Linked DNA regions of Homo sapiens: all the other regions are linked to region 2. Evidence: promoter capture Hi-C in 16 types of primary human blood cells and fetal thymus (Javierre and others, 2016). All regions are on one chromosome and are shown on one strand. Each heading gives the region's core, a stretch centred on a gene start or on the middle of the fragment in contact. The rest is flanking DNA. Distances are from core to core; before and after follow the strand shown.

What was found. The method cuts DNA at HindIII sites, captures the fragments that hold promoters and counts their contacts. A CHiCAGO score of 5 or more calls a contact.
Region 1: a contact is called between a fragment that was not itself captured here and the fragment with the promoter of PRKDC in region 2, in 2 of 17 cell types (total B cells and monocytes). The highest score is 6.4, in total B cells.
Region 3: a contact is called between a fragment that was not itself captured here and the fragment with the promoter of PRKDC in region 2, in 1 of 17 cell types (naive B cells). The highest score is 10.4, in naive B cells.

Annotation. Positions count from the first base shown.
Region 1 is chr8:46,951,016-46,954,259 of GRCh38, forward strand. It overlaps LOC105375814 (a long non-coding RNA gene), which reads right to left and starts at 869. Exons shown (of 3, transcript NR_188092.1): 1 at 648-869. The HindIII fragment of the contact is 7,979 bases long and covers 1-3,244 here.
Region 2 is chr8:47,958,357-47,962,011 of GRCh38, forward strand. PRKDC (protein kinase, DNA-activated, catalytic subunit) reads right to left here and starts at 1,780. Exons shown (of 86, transcript NM_006904.7): 1 at 1,617-1,780. The coding sequence starts at 1,770. MCM4 (minichromosome maintenance complex component 4) reads left to right here and starts at 2,585. Exons shown (of 17, transcript NM_182746.3): 1 at 2,585-2,658; 2 at 2,775-2,858; 3 at 3,160-3,324. The coding sequence starts at 2,789. RefSeq lists an enhancer at 1,249-1,408 and silencers at 1,589-1,638, 1,649-1,948, 2,619-3,018. The HindIII fragment of the contact is 8,899 bases long and covers 114-3,655 here.
Region 3 is chr8:46,908,006-46,911,520 of GRCh38, forward strand. No RefSeq gene overlaps it. Among named protein-coding and RNA genes, the nearest start is that of LINC00293, 69 kb to the left of the region's middle. The HindIII fragment of the contact is 1,756 bases long and covers 962-2,717 here.

The sequences.
Region 1 (3,244 bases), core at 669-3,168, 1.0 Mb before region 2:
GCTTTCATGTTATTCACTTTTAAAATGGATCATGTTTTGTTTGACTCCTTCTCTGTCAATTTCAAATAAAGAATTGTTTTTCATATTTGCTTCTAAATGCATATTTCAGACAGCAGTCCTGGGACTCCTGGAAAGTCCTCTACTGAGAAAGAGCACAGATTTGCAGACCTTTGGGAACTTCTGCTCCATTCTCTAGGATTCTGCCTCCTGAGGACAAATGGAGGAGTAGAAAGCAGCCAGAGCCTCTCACAGGTCAGCACTGCTCTCCAGCTCAGCCCTAACTCTTAGGAGAGTTGTGGCCCAGAGCCTCCTGTGACGGAAAGGCTGCTGGTGAGCAACTCTTGAGGGCCTGTTCCCCTCTGGTGTCCTGAATTCTTTAACAAACCAATCTATGGGCCTGAATTCCATGGTATTTGTGATTTTACCACACCTGGGCAAATGGTCTGTAACTTTTGGATAAAAGCCTTTGTCCCCACCTACCTTCTGTGCTGCCCAACCTGTTCTCCTAGACCAATGCTATTCTAATGTCCCCCGAGAGTTCCCATTCCTGAGGTCTCTCCATCCCAAGGATAGATTATGAAAAGAGAAAATAGGAATAGGAAAACAGAAGTTAACCTCTAATGTGGGCAGCCCTTGGGATTCCTTACCAGATTGATGTCTGTGTCTTTTCAAACATGGATAAATATGGATATCACTGAATGCAGAGACATGATAGAAAGATGATCTCAACCTCACTCAAATAAAGAAAGAACCAAAGAAAGCCCCAGGGATTGTTAAAATGCAGAAGAAACCAGCCCAAATTCTCCAGCATCTGTAGCTAGTGGCTTCCCCGGGCAACTGAGCAGAGAATGTGCTCTCTAGACTAGAGTTCCTGACCCGCATCACAAAGATATGGTACAGTCACAAAGGGGTCTTGAGCTTAGGGAGGGGACAAAGGAGGAAGTAACCCCAAGGCCCCCATTATTCTCCCCTCTCTTCTCTGGTCCTTCCTACTTGTCACCCATAACTGTTCTTTCTATCATCTATCTATCTATTCACCCATCCATCTACTCATCATCTATCCATCTATTCACCCATCCACCTACTCATCATCTATCTATTTATCAGCAATTGTCATGTATCATCTGTCTATTATCTATCACCTATTGATCTATCAATCAATTATCTATCATCTATCACTTATTAATCAATTATCTATCAACTGTCTATCACAATCACTGTTTCAATCTATCCTCATCTATCTGGTACCTATTAATTTATATCATCCATCTGTCATCCATCAACTATCATCTGTCATACATTCATCTATTTATCTGTCATTTATTAATTAATCAATCAATCTATTATCTATCACCTATCACCAATTAATCTATGTCTCTCTTATACCTATCTTTCTTATCTATATATCATCTCCCTTAATGCAATTTCCTCTTTACCCCAACTTTACCCCAGATATTCATGAAATTTTCTTTTCTTCCTTAGAGATATGCTTGGACCTCACCATCTCCACAGCTTTTAGAGGTCTGATCACCTCCCAGGAATTATTATTAAATTTCCAGGCATTATTTTTAAAATGTTGACTTTAAAAGTATAATACAAAGACAGAAAATGTAAACATCATCAGCACACAGCATGACGATTTATTAATCACTGACTTACACCAAGAAACCAGCGCTGCATCAAAGCAGATTTCCCAGGATCTGGACGCCACCCTCACGCTCTCTGCCTATCACTCCTTAAGACCACCTCCCTTCTGTGCCCAGTGCATCACTCTATGATTCTCACCAGTGCTGATGACTTTCCCCAGGCACACTGTTTTGCTTCTCCTCTGTACCTACTCCCTTAGCCCTCGCAATATTCCTCACATTACATATGAGGAACCCAGTGAGCAGAGTTCACAGTGACTGCCAAGGTCACACTTCTAGGAACCACAGCAGAGCTAAGACCAACCCAGGGGCTCAGGCTCTGGAATCACATCCTTTAACCACTGGGCTGGGTTGTGTCAAGCATCATGACAGATGGGGGCATGGTTAGAGTGCACAGTGAGATGTGGGTTCACAATACTCTTCTTTTACTTCCTCTCACTTGCAGCAGAGTTCAAGTTGAGAAGATGTAAAAGAAGAGTATTGGGGGGGCCGTGGTGAGGAGGCAGGGCTACAAGAGGGGAAGGAAGGGTCACAGGACACAGCTATTAGGTGCAAAGGCAGATCTGAGCCTAGGGCAGATTAGGGGCCATTATTTATTTGCCATTTCACAGAGGACAGGAGAAATCTGAGGTGAGTAATAGCCCTGTATCCAGCAGGCGCAGCTCAGTGCTCTGCTTGAGGCTGTTGCTAGATGTGTCTGAAGTCAGTCATTGTCTCTGGACTGAGGGGTCAGGTGAAACCTGACTCCTTGGCACTCTGGGGGGCCTGGGTTCCTGACTGCACTCAAGCAGTTCACAGGATGTCTGCCCAGGTCCATGCTGTAGGAGGATCAGGGGAGAACTGAGAAGTGCGTGAGGCTCAAGGTGAGCATGGCAGGGCTAGGGGTGAGTGTGGGCTCCAGGACGGGTGGACTTGTCATGGTGGCCCACGGTTAGCTAGGGGAGGGGATGAGGCTATGGGGCAGGAGGCTTTCCTCTCAGCTCCACCACTCACTGGTTATGAACTGTGGATGGGCAACTTTATCTCTCAGAGTACTGCTTTCTTCATGTCTGAGACTGATTGCATCACTGCCCAAATCAAATTGACATGTGAATTAAATAAGGTAGAATTTTATTTATCTTATAGATGGCACATAAGGGCCATTGATACCTTTCAATTTCTCTTCCCTGTGTTGTCTTTGCTGAACTCTCTTCTCTTTGATACTGATCTAGGGTAAGTATTGATGAGATCTTACTATCTTGCAAAAGAGAGATAAAATGGAAAAATAATGTTTTCTTTGAATGATTTCTTGGTGTTAGGGGTTTCCATCACTCTTGCATAATTAGCAACAAGACCTGACTTAGACATTCAGCATGGAGCAAAGAACCCTGGCAGTACAGCCAGAACCAGCTGCGGGCTGGATGGGTGTATCAGTCAGTGTTCCCTAGAGAAATACTTACATATGATATACATTATATGTTTACAAGTATTATACATTCATATCAATTTATATAACTATGTAATTTATATTAATTAGATATATGACATAATTATATATAACGAGTATTATGGGGGCTAAGTCCTAAGGTCTGCAGTCATCAAGAGACCCAGCAGGTTCC
Region 2 (3,655 bases), core at 530-3,029:
TGTCTGGTACTTTGGTTCTAGCTTGGTGAGACCTGTGTGGGATTCTGACTCACAGAATCCCCCTTACAGTGGGAACTGTAAGAGTAACAGACCTGTGCTGTTTTAAACCACTAAGCTTGTGGTAATTGTTACAGCAGCAATAAGGAACTAATACACTTCCCCTGGAATCTCTCAAGTGAAAGGAGATATGGCATAAATGGAAGGTAAACTTGGAAGTGCTTTAGAAACAAGTTACTAAACGAACAAAAATGAATTCTAAATTTGAAACCCTGAGAAGAGAAAGTAATCACGCAATGTTAGTTTTTTGTTTGATATTTCCCCATTGTTAATATATTCTTGACAACAGATAGAGTACATATAGGATACATGTATATAGCATCTTTTTTTTTTTTTTTTTGGGACGGAGTCGTGCTCTGTTGCCCAGGCTGGAGTGCAGTGGCACAATCTCGGCTCACTGCAATCTCCTTCTCCTGGGTTCAAGACATTCTCCTGTCTCAGCCTCCCGAATAGCTGGGACTACAGGCGCTCGCCACCATGCCCAGTTAATTTTTGTATTTTTAGTAGAGACAAGGTTTCACCATACTGGTCAGGTTGGTCTCCATCTCCTGACCTCAGGTGATCCAGCTGCCACAGCCTCCCAAAGTGCTGGGATTACAGGCATGAGCCACCGCACCGTGCCACATATAGCATCTAGTTTAAACTGTTTAAGTTATTCCTACACCATATTCACTACTAGACCCTCCGGAAGAAAATCTCACCTTTTAATAGGGCACAACATCAAGGTCTGCATACTCGTGTTTTAAAGAAGGAATACAGGAGATCCACATAATTAAGTATTTGAATATTTAAAATGCTAAAAAGAGGCACTTTTACTACAAAGGGGAAAAAGTTCCCACCCAGGCATTGCTAAAGAGTTAAAAGAACATGACTTCAATTACATTTCTTCAATTTTTCTCAAAGTAGGAACGGCAAATAGAGGGGTTTGGAAAAGGTACTGGTGGGATTAGGCGAGATTCAGGTGAAAGAAAATACTTTCTCTTGGCCGGGCCCGGTGGCTCACGTCTGTAATCCCAGCACTTTGGGAGGCCGAGGCGGGGGGATCACGAGGTCAGGAGTTCGAGACCAGCCTGACCAACATGGTGAAACCCCATCTCTACTAAAAATACAAAAAAATTAGCCGGGCGTGGTGGCGCGCGCCTGTAATCCCAGCTACTCGGGGGGCTGAGGCAGGAGAATAGCTTGAACCCGGGAGGCGGAGGTTGCAGTGAGCCGAGATCGCGCCACTTCACTCCAGCCTGGGCGACAGAGCGAGACTCCGTCTCAAAAAAAAAAAAAATTATTTCTCTTGCCCTGCCCCCCACTCTGCATAGCAATGATTGCCATATTAGGGGTCGTTTTCACCAACTTTGGCTTTAAAATATCTTTCCTCTAATACTAGGGGGTAAAAAGCAGTATGACAAATCCCTTTATACACATACACAGAAATTCCCCCAAGAATCTAATTGCTGTACTTCAAAATACCGTCATCTAAACACAGAGAAGCGCCGGGCTGCCCGGCTCCAGAACGACTCGGGAAGCCAGGACCCACCCGCGGCCCAGCTCGGGCCGGTACCCACCCAGCACCGCGGGGCTGCTGCTCAGGACGCATTCCTGCCCCAGGCCGCGGATCAGTTGATGACCGGCCAGGGCAGCACCGCAGCGGTCCGCAGCGGACAAGGTCTCCTGCAGCCGCAGCAGGGAGCAACGCACACCGGCTCCGGAGCCCGCCATGCCGCCGAGTCCCGCTCCCGCGCGTGCGCCCGCTCGGCCCGGACCCGGAAATGCCCCTACGCGCGGAGGCGGGGCTGCGGGGCGCGGCGGCAGGAACTTTCCCGGGGACCCCTGCGGGAAGGCCTGGCCAGTAAGCGCGCCTCTTTGGCCCGAATCAACATGGAAACCTAAGGAAAAACGTCTGACCTGCGGAGGTAGTTTGGGTGGCTACTTGGTGTTGGACTTGGCTAAATAAATACCAGAGGCAGATAAAACAAGCGAGGGGCCTAGGTCAAGAGTTCCAAGTTTGTTCCTCGATAAAAAACGACAAACGCGGTCGGGGGCGGTGATGCCCGCCTGCAGTCCCAACACTTTAGGAAGCTGAGGCGGGGGGATCGCAGGAGTTCGAGACCAGTCTGGGCAACATAATGAGACCATCCCCACCACCTCCCGTCCTTAATTTTTTTTAATAAAAAAAATCTTTAAGTGAGAAATGCATCTGTAATGTCCTTATTAACCAAAAACGCCTAAGGGATAAAGAAGCACACGCTCCCTAGCCAACGCTAGAGGAACACACCCCGAGAGCTGGTGCTGTAGGACCCAGTTTTCCCGCGAAAACGCTGCCGCGCAGGGGGTCAGACCATCTGGACCAAGGGGGGCCGAGCGAGGCCTACTTCTGGTTTACGCACGGGCGCTGAAAGAAGCGGCACTGTCCCCCCCTGCCGATGCGCAGTGGCGCCTCCCGGAGGCGGAGCCACGTACGAGCGCCGCTGTGATTGGTGAGGCCCCGCCAGGGGCGGAGACGACCTTGCCGCCGGCGGGAACTCTGGGTCTCGCGGTTTGGGAGCGCTACTCGCCAGGTGGACTCGGAGTCCGCGAGCGTCGTCGGCAAGCGGCCGCCTTTCCACGGTAACCGCGCGCCGGCGGGGAGGGCGTGGCGCGGAGCCGACGGGAACGTCCGCGCTGCGGAGCAGGGCAGGGAAGCCGGGAGGCGGGCCCGGCCCGAGCTTGTCCTTGTCGCGCAGGTACTCCGAGCACTATGTCGTCCCCGGCGTCGACCCCGAGCCGCCGCGGCAGCCGGCGTGGAAGGGCCACCCCCGCCCAGACGCGTGAGTCCCCCGAGCCGGGCCCACTACAGCCCCCGGCGCCGCCCCGTCTGCCCTCTCGCCGCAGCTGGCAGCGCTGGGTGGGTGCGCGGGACCCGGGCGCTCAGCCTCGGGCTGGGCGCTGCCGCTTGGTGCGCACAGACACCCACAGCAGGCTGTGGCCTGGGTGCTGCTTAATTCGATTGCCATTTGCCTCTGTTTGGTTTGGTTCAGTGGTGAGTCATAATGCCCCAAGGAAAAGACAAATCCAGGAAGGCCGGCCCTGAAAGTTAATGGCTGTCTTTTCTGTTTTGTGTGACACAAGCTCGGAGTGAGGATGCCAGGTCATCTCCCTCTCAGAGACGTAGAGGCGAGGATTCCACCTCCACGGGGGAGTTGCAGCCGATGCCAACCTCGCCTGGAGTGGACCTGCAGAGCCCTGCTGCGCAGGACGTGCTGTTTTCCAGCCCTCCCCAAATGCATTCTTCAGGTGCGTGTCTGAAGATCTTGGTTTTGCTGTGCTTGATACACAGCTGATGCTTTATCTGCTCAGGTTTACTGGCTTTATAACAGTTGGCATAACGCCTAAAGCATCCCCTCTGCACGTGACTGAGCATGTTCTTAACCAGAGGAGCTGAACGGAGTGCAGAAAATAGTAGTTTTAGGGCTTAGTGAGCAGAGGAAGCAGCTTCTCTGGTGCTTTTTTTTAATAGAACATTTAAGAGTGCTCAGAATCTCAGCCACCGCAGGTTGCAATAAATATTCAGTTTGCTGTTGCGATTAGATGGTATAGATCAACAGACAACATGCTGTAATTTCAG
Region 3 (3,515 bases), core at 590-3,089, 1.1 Mb before region 2:
TAAGGAAGAGCCAGAGGGAAGGAGGCAGGCCTGTGTTGCAAATGTGGCTGTCTTTATGTGAGAATCAAGGCAGGAGAGGAGAGGGTGGGAGTGAGGAAAACCAGCCTCAGTGCTTCCAAATATCAGTATCTGTTTATATGCAAACACATGCCATGGATCTTGGAGACATTCACTCTGCCTTGTCATTCCTAATTTCCCCTTTCCAGCTAATAACACTGATACACACACATATACAACATACACACATGGTCACACACACATATATAAACACACAGATGTGTGCACACATACACATATACACACACCCACATACACACATACATACATATGCACATATACATACTTATGCATGCACATGTGAACACAAATACATACATGAGCACACATACATATGCGTGCACATAAACACACAAATACTGAGCACAGATTCCATTCAGCAAGCCAACAAACATTTAGTAGTAAATGTGAACTACAAACCAAATGCTGAGAAGAGCTGGAGGAATGCAAAACTGAGTAAAAAAATGATTCCTGCCTGATATAGTTTGGCTGTGTCCACACCCAAGTCTCATCTTGAATTGTAGTTCCCATAATCCCCAAGTGTCATAGGAGGGACATAATTTAATAATAACAGCGGTTACCTCCATGCTATTTTCATGTTAGTGAGTGAGTTCTCGTGAGGTCTAATGGTTTTACAAGGGGCTTCTCCCCCATTCTCTCCGCCCTTCTTGCTGCCGCCATGTGAAGAAGGACACGTTTGCTACCCCTTCTGCCATGATTTAAGTCTCCTGAGGCCTCCCCAGCCCTGCGAAATTGTGAATCCATTAAACCTATTTTCTTTATAAATTACCCAGTCTCAGATATGTCTCTTTATTAGCAGTATGAGAAAGGACTAATACACTGCCCACAACGCTTTTAAAAAGAACTGGAAGATAAATGCACATATGGCACGTACTAAAATGGAAGCTTGGGACAATTTTGGAGACAAGCAGTATGTGTAGAACGGGAGTCAGGAGAACAGCCTCAGCGACTGGCTCACTGCACAGCCTCAGGATGGGCCTTTAGCTTGCTGTGCTGTGCCCTCATCCATAAAGTGCAGATGAAGAAACTTGCCTCAGAAGGAGGCTCAGAGAAACAAACAAACACTACATCTACGGGCTGCAAAAATAAAGGACTATTATTACAAAACCCACAGGGGTATCAGGAAGATGAAATTGAACAGGGCATGACCAAGATAGCCCTGACAGCCAGCTTATGAAGTCCAGCAAAGATGATACACAGGCTGATAGAACACTGTGAAGAAAGCAGGTGGAACACACTGCCGGCCTCAGGGCACCAGCAGGAGGGGTGTGCAGGGCATTAGGAAGCAGCCAGGAGATGGATCTAGAAAGCAGGCTGGGAACAGATAGCCTGGAGACCTGGAGAGCACAGCTGAAAAGCCCACACGTTCCCCTGCAGGTAGTGAAGCCGGTTAGAGAAGGTGGAGCCGGCCCCACTGGCTGGAGTCTGCATTCCACAGAGTCATGTCCCATCCTCCTGATGGTCCCACCTGCAGCCCAGGGATCACTGTCCTCAGTATCTTCATATGTGAAAGAAAGAAAGAAAAGCAGTGTGCTGGGTGACTTGGGGTGTCTTCTGCCTCTCAGTTTTGGCCCCCATTCAGCTGCTCTCAGGAGAGCCTCACAGGCCCGTTTCTCCCCTCCCAGTTGAGAGTGCAAGTCCTGGGTCTTTCTAGGTTCCCCGGCTGTAGGCCTGCATGGAGTAATCATTTAGGAGAGCCAGCTCCCTTGCCCCAGCTCCCTGGATGCTTTCTGGGCTTGGCTCACGCAGAAGATATCCCATGAAGGTGACTGCCTGCAGGAGTATTAGCCAGGACCCCCTGTCCTCCTCAAGAGGAGGGGACAGGCTCTGTTTAATTTTCTACACAGGCCCACCTCTCTTTCAGACTTGAGGCAGGAAAATTATACCTCATTCTCCCCATTCAGGGAGACAGATCAAGGTACAAAGATAAGAAAAATATATATATATTTTCGGAACACTATATTTTCATTAATTTTTTTAAAAAAATGTGCAATCTTGAAGACATAGAAAAAGGCGTATGAATATTGTCATAAGTGTGTGTGCCTACACACAGAGCTCAGGACACAAAACGCCGCATTTCAGGAAAAGCCTGCACACCAGCCTTAGCCTCCCTGCTGCCGGGATCCTCCCCAGGCCTGTGTGTGTATCATGTGACCTACTGTGCTCTTTCCCAGAATTTTAACCTTAAGAAATGATGTGACACTGGTGCTGTCCTCCTGTTATTTCCTTTTTCATTCCATAATGTTTTGACATTCATCTGTGTGGACATATAATTAATTATTTCTCACTGTCTTAAAATTTTCCACTGAATAATCTGCCACATTCTATTAATTAAGGTTACTGGACATTTAAGTTGAATTATCATACACTGCTGATTGGAGTACAAAAGGGTTCAGCCACTTTAAGGAGCAACTGGGCAATACTAATGCTGAAGTGACTTAACCCAGGGGTGTCCAATTTTTTGGCTTCCCTGGGCCACATTGGAAGAAAAAGGATTGTCTTGGGCCGCACACAAAATACACTAACACTAACAATAACTGATGAGATAAAAAACTCATAATGCTTTAAGAAAATTTACAAATTTGTGTTGGGTCATATTCAAAGCCATCCTGGGCTGCATGTGGCCTGCAGGTTGGACAAGCTTGACTTAACCTATGGCCACCACTTTTACTCCAAAGTATGTATCTGAAAGAAAGCTTACACATATACCAGCCCTTTGTACCATAAAATTATCTTTCCATGCAGTCTTCTATTTAATTTACTCACACTAACATGTTTTATTCCTATTTTATAGATGAGAAAACTAGGGCCAAGGGAGGCTAAGGCAATTTCCTGGCTCACATTGCCAGTGTGTGACAGAGCTAGGGTTTGGGGACATCTCCTGTTCTCAGGGAGTCCCCACTGCCCCACCCCAGCCTGGCCACCTCCAACCACAGAGGCAGCCTGTGTGTGCTCATGGCTCACCACCCTAAAAAGGGGAAAGAGGTCTCTCATCAGGAAGGAGAAACTCCAGTGTGGCTGCTCCAGCTGGTGCCACCAGTGCTGGTGACGTTGCCTGCAGTTGCCCAACACTGGGGAACAAGACAGTTTTTATCCAGGTGTCCTGACAAGCCTATGGACACATTCTGAAAATGCACAAGTGGCATATGAAGCCTTCCTCTCACTTGATGCCCAGCACCTGTCACCTACAGTTGAGCTGTGGCTGAACCCCATGAGAGTCTCAACAAGGCTGCCCTGAGGCCTGCCCCAAATGATGTTTCTTAACACTTTTTAGAAAGAAGGAAACTGAGCCTCACAGAGGCAGAATCTGCATGCCCAGCTCCAAGCCTGAGGTTGCCATGGAGAGTAGAAATAATCCCAGTAGTAATGGATTGCTGAATGCTGACCAAGTGTTCCCTGCCTGGCAGCACCCACTGTGCCGACTGTATGGCCCCCTC